3 separate regions of the Homo sapiens genome follow, and all the other regions are linked to region 2. The links are contacts of gene promoters, found by promoter capture Hi-C in blood cells and fetal thymus (Javierre and others, 2016). All regions are on one chromosome and are shown on one strand. Each heading gives the region's core, a stretch centred on a gene start or on the middle of the fragment in contact. The rest is flanking DNA. Distances are from core to core; before and after follow the strand shown.

Evidence for each region. The method cuts DNA at HindIII sites, captures the fragments that hold promoters and counts their contacts. A CHiCAGO score of 5 or more calls a contact.
Region 1: the fragment with the promoter of ZRSR2 here is called in contact with the fragment with the promoter of PIGA in region 2 in 7 of 17 cell types (fetal thymus, total CD8 T cells, naive CD4 T cells and 4 more); the score reaches 8.6 in fetal thymus.
Region 3: a fragment that was not itself captured here is called in contact with the fragment with the promoter of PIGA in region 2 in 1 of 17 cell types (naive CD8 T cells); the score reaches 5.2 in naive CD8 T cells.

Annotation. Positions count from the first base shown.
Region 1 is chrX:15,789,231-15,791,930 of GRCh38, forward strand. ZRSR2 (zinc finger CCCH-type, RNA binding motif and serine/arginine rich 2) reads left to right here and starts at 1,254. Exons shown (of 11, transcript NM_005089.4): 1 at 1,254-1,306; 2 at 1,704-1,783. The coding sequence starts at 1,266. RefSeq lists enhancers at 1,132-1,581, 2,240-2,700. The HindIII fragment of the contact is 2,263 bases long and covers 1-2,040 here.
Region 2 is chrX:15,334,150-15,336,849 of GRCh38, forward strand. PIGA (phosphatidylinositol glycan anchor biosynthesis class A) reads right to left here and starts at 1,374. Exons shown (of 6, transcript NM_002641.4): 1 at 1,352-1,374. RefSeq lists enhancers at 1,126-1,175, 1,226-1,305. The HindIII fragment of the contact is 3,001 bases long and covers 1-2,700 here.
Region 3 is chrX:15,806,804-15,809,503 of GRCh38, forward strand. It overlaps ZRSR2 (zinc finger CCCH-type, RNA binding motif and serine/arginine rich 2), which reads left to right. Exons shown (of 11, transcript NM_005089.4): 6 at 1,430-1,468; 7 at 2,397-2,515. Among named protein-coding and RNA genes, the nearest start is that of ZRSR2, 18 kb to the left of the region's middle. The HindIII fragment of the contact is 155 bases long and covers 1,277-1,431 here.

The sequences.
Region 1 (2,700 bases), core at 4-2,503, 450 kb after region 2:
CTCCTGGGTTCAAGCAGTTCTCCTGTTTCAGCCTCCAGAGTAGCTGGGACTACAGGCATGTGCCACCACACCCGGCTAATTTTGTATTTTTAGTAGAGACGGGGTTTCACCATGTTGGCCAGGCTGACGAACTCCTGACCTCAGGTGATCCACCCGCCTAGGCCTCCCAAAGTGCTGGGATTACAGGCGTGAGCCGCTGCACCCAGCCTCGAACTGCACTTTAAATTGGATAGCTGGGCGGGCGTGGTGGCTCGCGCCTGTATTCCCAGCTACTCGGGAGGCTGAGGTGGAAGGATTGCTTGACCCCAGGAGGTCGAAGCTGCAGCGAGTCGTGATTGCGCCACTGCACTCCAACCTGGGTGAAAGACAAGACCCTGTCTCTAATATATAAGAAATGAATAAATAAATAAATTCGATTGCCAAAATTCTTGCTGTTCCCAGCATATTCCACTTTCACCTTTCAGCGCCTTTGCTTATGCTGATCTGACTGTAACTGCATTCCCACCCTTCTCCTTCTGGGTAAAGGGCATCTTCTTTCCAAACTCAACTCTTAGCATCAGAAAGCTGTCCCTGATACTGCAGTTGAGTCGCATGTGATACTGAAAAAAAAAGAAAAAAGGAAAAAAAAGAGAGCTCTCCCTGAATCCCTTGGTGGACTATGTTAGGTAAACTTCATCTTTGCCTGCATCATATTATGTATTGGTTCTTCTCTGCCCCCTCGATTGTAAACTCCTCAGGGGCAGAGGTAACAGCTTTGCAGCCCTGGGAGTTAGGTTTGCTTAAGGGACCAGAACAGGTGTGACTGGCAGGGAGCGAAGTCTGGAGCTTTGTCTGAGGCGCTGATAGGTGGATCGGCGGAAGGACGCGGAACCTGGACAGGTCGGAAATAAAGCCGGGCGAGCAGCTCTGTGCGCGATGTGACTTCATGAGTGGATGCTGAGAAAAGCGGCAGAGTACGACTTTAACCGCCTAGCCACAACACGTCCTGCTAGGGCGAGGAGGGAGACAGTGATACAGCACTGGGCAAGTGCTGAAGCGACAATTACTTCTAGGGCGGGGTAAAAGCCCCAGAGTATTTTTGCTGGAAGGAGGTATTTATTTGAGCAGGGTTCTGGAAGACGAGCCGCCGAAGGGTACCTCCGGCTTTCCGTTTCAAGTCCCACGCTGGTGGAGGTTGCTCGGTACCCGCGCCTGCGCGTGCCCGTCTCGACTCTTAGGCCCGCCCTTTCCTGCCAGACCTGGAGGGGCGGGGCGGTGCCGGCAAGATGGCTGCGCCCGAGAAGATGACGTTTCCCGAGAAACCAAGGTAAGCGCCGTACGGGGAGATGAGCAGGCGAGCGGGCCGATCGTGGGCATGGAGGATGTGGTGGCAGGAAGAAAAGAGAAGCTGGGCCAAGCTAAGTGAGCCACCGCGGCAGCTCCATTCCTTCCTGGTGCGCGCTCTGGTGCCCTCCCCGGACTTGCACGGGCGGCTGTGGCTCAGGCAAGCGAGGAGAGGATCAGGTTGGCGGATGGAGAAGAACTGTCTGGGAGTGGGAGGATGAGGCGATGATAGATGGCTGTTCTGTAATTAAAATACAGGAAGCAAGGTTTCTCTCCTCAGCACCCGAACTATTTCCTTTCATTGGGCACAGAGGAGCGGGGAGCTCGGGCAGCGCTGCATTGTAGCCGCTGATCGTCGTGTATATGTCTTAATCTTCCAGCCACAAAAAGTACAGGGCCGCCCTGAAGAAGGAGAAACGAAAGAAACGTCGGCAGGAACTTGCTCGACTGAGAGACTCAGGTGATGGACTCTTTATTCTGTTTTCTGTGTTGTGAAATTGCTCTGTCCACTCCAGCCCTAACTTGAAGCCCCAGTGTCAGAAGGAAGTCAAATATTGTGTCGGAGGAAAAATAGCTGTGACTTCTGCCCCCAAGTAGTTATTTAGAAACACATGTCAGAAACAATGTTAACATACTAAAGGCAGGAAGAGGAAGTCTTGGTGAATGATCGCCCACTGATTCTGTGTAACTTATAAAGTATCTAATATTACAGTTGCAAGCTTCATGAATTACAGCAGCTAGCACAGTCCTTGCACACGTAGTAAGTATTCGGTGAATGTTTTTCTTCGTAAAACCAGCAGGAGTTGAAGGTATTAATTAGACGTTTTGCAAGTTTTTCTCAAACTTGACTAATATGAGACCCTTGGTTTACCCAAATTATTATGTTATTCAAATATATATCAACATAATACTAGTTATGAAGCTCATTTATTTATTTTTGAGACAGGGTCTTGTTCTGTTGCCCAGGAGGGATGTGCACAACCACGGCTCACAGCAGCCTCCACCTCCCAGGCTCAAGCAGTCCTCCCACCTCAGCCTCCCTAGTAGCTGGGACTACAGGCATTCACCACCACACCTGGCTAATTTTTTCTTTTCTTTTCTTTTTTTTTTTTTTTTTTTTTGAGACGGAGTCTCGCTCTGTTGCCCAGGCTGGAGTGCAGTGGCACGATCTTGGCTCACTGCAGCCTCCGCCCCCTGGGTTCAAGCAGTTCTCCTGCTGCAGCCTCCCGAGTAGCTGGGATTACAGGCGTGCGCAACCACACCCGGCTAATTTTTGTATTTTTAGTAGAGATGGGGTGAAACCCCATCATGTTGGCCAGGCTGGTTTCGAACTTCTGACCTCAGGTGATCCACCCACCTCAGCCTCCCAAAGTGCTG
Region 2 (2,700 bases), core at 124-2,623:
GCTTAACTGTCTAGTCTCTCCAACAAATTCATCTACTTTTTTTTTTTTTTTTTTTTTTTGAGACGGAGTCTCACTCTGTTGCCCAGGCTAGTGTGCAGTGGAGCGATCTCGTCTCACTGCAGCCTCTGCCTCCCGAGTTCAAGCGATTCTCCCACTTCAGCCTCCTGAATAGCTGGAATTACAGGCGCACACCACAAGCCCAGCTAATTTTTGTATTTTTAGTAGAGACGGGGTTTCATCATGTTGGCCAGGCTGGTCTCGAACCCCTGACCTCAGGTGATCCACCAGCCTCGGCCTCCCAAAGTGCTGGGATTACAGGTGTGAGCCACCGTGCCCGGCCTCATCTACATTTTAAATATACTCTCGGAAAGACCCCAGAAGTGTTTGTTGACTGAGTTTACTAATTAAGATTCAATATTACCAAATATTGAAATTCCCCAAGTTTGTACTTTTAGGTGGCTTAACTAACATTTTCTTACTGTGGTCACCTAAACCCGAACTTCCAGTTCTACCAGTTTTAAAAGATGAACGATAGCAAAAACAGTGAGTAATGAACCAAATGATATCATTTAAAATGTTGTCATTAGCCTGCAACGTTCTGTGAGGAGTCTGCCCACTTCCGCCAGGTTTTCAGTCCAAACATCTTTGACATAAAAGTTCATTATGCTGCACAATCGCAGAATCTTAGCTCTTAAAGCCGAAATGAGGCTTGGAGCTCTAGTGAATACCTCTCTCGTTTTACAAATGAGAACCCAGACAAGTTGAGTGATTTGTCCAAGGTTCCCACCCAGCCACTTAAAGTGGCAAAGACATTACCGTAAAATTCTCGACCACGACCAACGAGCCCTGGGCAATCATTAGCAGTAGAGGTTCCTGAAGAACCTTAGGGAGACCTGGCAGGAGTTGTGGGTCAAGAGAATGGTACTTCCACCGACAATTCCTGGGCACTGTCTGAGCTTCATTCCCTGATTCCCTGAGAGGTCGCTGGGGAAACGCTCGGGCCAAGGAGGGGATACCCCTGCTCAGACAGCGACCCCGCTGGGTTCATGGCGGGGATGGCCAGGCCCAAAGAGAGAAAGAAAACAACCAAAGAGTGGACGTTGGTCTCAGGCCCGGGGTTCCGGAGACCCCAGTCCCTCGACCCACCCGCCTGAGCCAAGGAACCCAGCGCGTCCGCCCTAAACGCACCCTCAGCCCCAACCTACTCTGGAGACCCTCCGACCCAACTTCCGGGCTTCGAACCGGGTCGGTTTCACCCCCTCCACCACCCGCCACGATCCCACGCGCGCAGAACAGCCCCATCCGAAAGCGGCCCAGAGCGCTGGAGAGGGGCGGCGCGACGCGCACTCACCGGTGAGTTCCATGGCCGCCAGTGTCCGGACCTCCCGCGGCTGCAGCCGGAGTCCCTCCCTGCTGTTCCGCAGCACCAATCTAGGGCGTCCGCGCCCAAGGGCCGCGCCCCCGAGGCAGCCAATCACAAAGAGGCGCTGAGGTCACGTCCGAGAGAGACGCTCTGTCGTCCCCACCCTTAAGCGCGAGATGTAACGTCAGCGCGCGCCTGCGCCCGTCTCCTAGAAGCGGCCGACGGTAGGGTGGGTGCTCACCCTGGTTTCCTGGTTACAGCGTCTCTATTCCGGACGCCAGTTCTCTGCGCGCTTGCTTCTGATTGGAGAGACTTTTTGTTTGTAATCAGCTGTGCCACGGCAAAACCGTGCCGGTTCTTACCGCTCTGGGACGTTTGCCAGATAAATAAATAAAAATACACAAAAAGTCAAAACAGATGAAACTATGAAGTTTTAATTTCAGATAAAGCACAAATGATGTTTAATACAAGCATGTACCAAATATTGGGGACTTCACTACACATTCGTTTTTTATCGGACATGTAAATTTAACTAGACATCCTGTTATTTATATGGCAATTCTACACTCTGAGGGAAACATACGAGGTCTGATCTGAAATATCAACTCCCACTCGACTGGTTCAACTAGTTACGATGGTGCTTGACTAGGAAGCTAAAGAATCAGTGAGAGTGGTATGACGGTCATCCATGCGTCACAGCTGGTACTTGGAATCCCCCATCCCTGCCATACGTGCGTTTTCGAGAAGAAATTCCTTTCTGAGTACCATCACAGCCACCGTTACTGGCACCCATTTTATTAAGCCTAGTGTAAGCCTATTCATCCCTGAAAATGTCTGCTCCTTTCTGATGCTTTCCCCAAGCCTCCAGAGAATGAAATACTCTCACTTTTTAATTTTAATAGTACTTTGGCCACATGCTGGCCAAAGTATAACATTTATCAGATGATATTCAAGTTGTTTGCCTGATTGCATTCTCCCTCCTCACCCTGATCCTTGATTACTTGTCTCTTGAGATCTCACATGGACTTCTTTCTGAAAACGGAAATTGTATTTGCTTGTTAAATGTCTGCCTTCCCTGCCAGATAGTAAACTGAGGCAGGATCTGTTCTTGGTAATGGATGTTGAGGAAGTTTTAGTTTAATACATGAATTTCTTTACCCAATGTCAGCACACTCCCTGACACATATTAGATGCTCACAATAAAATGTATTGACAGTATTTCGTGGAGTGTACCTTATACAAATTACAGTGCAATAACATCATTGAAAGAGCATTTTAGTTGTGAGATTTGAAGCGAATTAATGAGTTGATGAGTAAGACTAGAGTAGCAATCGATA
Region 3 (2,700 bases), core at 104-2,603, 470 kb after region 2:
ACTACAGGCGCCCATCACCACACCCGGCTAATTTTTTGTGTTTTTAGTACAGACAGGGTTTCACCATGTTGACCAGAGGACAAGGAGAGAGAGAGGAATTCAAGTCATATTTTTAGGTTTTTAGTTTGAATAGACAGATAGACTGGCAACACTATTCACTGAGGGAGCATTCAGGTGGATGTGGGCCAGGGAGTGTAGAGGACAAGAGTTCTGTTTTGAGCACCACAAATAAGCAACTAGACATACGAGTCTTATGTAATGCTTTAAGGGGCTAGGGAAGATAAGACTGTCTGTTAAACATAGGTACAACTTGTTCAAATGCCAATTAGGTAGAAATTTACTGGCATATTGCAGAACCTCCTTTGCCTTATTAAAAAGTTAGAATTTTCTCCTAAATGCTAATTACCACTGGTCATGTCATATTTTAGCTTCTGCTAAATGTTTATGATTTCATCTAGCATTGTTTTTTGGGTTTTTTCGTTTGTTTGTTTGTTCGTTTTTTTTTAGACAGAGTCTTGCTCTGTCGCCTAGGCTGGAGTGCAGTGGCGTCATCTCGGCTCACTGCAACCTCTGCCTCCTGGGTTCAAGCGATTCTCCTGTCTCAGCCTCCCAAGTAGCTGGGATTACAGGCACGTGCCACCACACCTGGCTAATTTTTGTATTTTTAGTAGTGACGGGGTTTCACCGTCTTGGCCAGGCTGGTCTAGAACTCCTGACCTCAAGTGATCCACCCGCCTCAGCCTCCCAAAGTGCTAGGATTATAGGTGTGAGCCACCATGCCCGGCCTAGCATTGTGTTTTATATTCACTAATACCCCCTTTTACGAACTAGGACATGGTATATATACTCAAATATACTAAGTATTACTATTATTGAAACTATTATAAGACTATTTTAAATATTTTGCAATGTGATCTGGTAAATTTTCTATTTGAATAGAACGTCTCAGCTATGGGCCGGGCACGGTAGCTCATGCCTGTAATCCCAGCACTTTGGGAGGCTGAGGCGGGTGGATTGCTTGAGCTCAGGAGTTCGAGACTAGCCTGGGCAACATGGTGAAACTCCGTCTCTACAGAAAATACAAAAGTTATCCAGGCGTGGTGGTGTGCGCCTGTAGTCCTAGCTACTCGGAAGGCTGAGGTGGGAGGATCACTTGAGCCTGGGAGGCGGAGGTTGCAGTGAGCTGAGGTCACGCCACTGCACTCCAGCCTGGGTGACAGAGTGAGACCCTGTCTCAAAAAAAAAAGAGAAAAGTCTCAGCTATATATCCTTTGAAAGCTTTTCAAAAGATCTGTGATTCAAAAGAAAACTAGAACTTGTGTGCGTGTGTGTGTTTTAATTGTTCCACTTGAGATTCTTAACCAGAGAAACCAGATGTGACTTACCTGACTTCTGGGTTTTTATTAGTCCTGTGTTTGCACCATTTTAGGAAGCTTTGCAGAAGATGCTGGATCAGGCTGAAAATGAGGTATTTTTAAAACCTTACATTGATAATTTGAGACCAATTAATGTTTCCTTAGAAATAATAGTTCCAGTAATGTTAGTTTCGTGGTAGGTTAGTTAGATCATGTTTGGATATCTGGACTCATGTTTATGATGCTTTGATTTATACAACAACAACAAACTTTATTGATGAACAAATACAAATGGTATTCATGACCCCTGTGGACTGGACCTGTTTAGAGTCCTTACAGTATGTTTAAGCAACATCACATACCGTTAGCCTCCAGTGGACGGTTTACCTTGAATCAGAGTAACTTCTATTTCTGTCTGTGGTGGTTCCCTAATAAGTTCTTGGACCCTTTTTTTTCTCTTTTTTTCTTTTTTTTTTTTTTGAGACGGAGTTTTGCTCTTGTTGCCCAGGCTGGAGTACAGTGGTATGATCTCGGCTCACTGCAACCTCCGCCTCCCGGGTTCAAGCAACTCTCCTGCCCCAGCCTCCCAAGTAGCTGGGATTATAGGTGTGCACCACCACGCCCAGCTAATTTTATATTTTTAGTAGAGATGGGGTTTCTCCATGTTGGTCAGGCTGGTCTTGAACTCCTGATCTCAGGTGATCCACCCACCTCGGCCTCCCAAAGTGCTGGGATTACAGGCGTGAGCCACTGCACCCGGCCTTCTTGGACCCTTTTTAGAATGGATGGAAACCTTGGCGACTGCCCCTGGTGGCAGTAGTGATACCAGATAAAGGAAAGTGACCAGGAGCCAAGAGAGACATGGAGCTCATGTCTCAGTACCGTTGTTTGTAAAGTCTTGATTGCCTGTTCCAACTTAAATGTTTGCATTATTAAATGAAACAATGTTTATCTTTGAGGAAAATATTTTAATATACTTTGAAACATTTCGTCTTTCATGGGTTTTTACTCCACCAGTAAAGTCATGGTTATTTTCAACAGTTGGAAAATGGTACCACATGGCAAAACCCAGAACCACCCGTGGATTTCAGAGTAATGGAGAAGGATCGAGCTAATTGTCCCTTCTACAGTAAAACAGGAGCTTGCAGATTTGGAGATAGGTAACTAATTTTGTTTTATCATGTCAGAATGAAGTGATTCAAAATGCTGACGTTTTTGAGTTCCCCTTTTGGGAGAGGCGCATGTTTCCATTTCAAATGTCCGTCATCAGACATCTGCTGCCTTCTTGCTGCTGCTCTCGTTTTCCCAGCTGATCATCCTCTGCTTTGACCATCCCTGTTCCCTC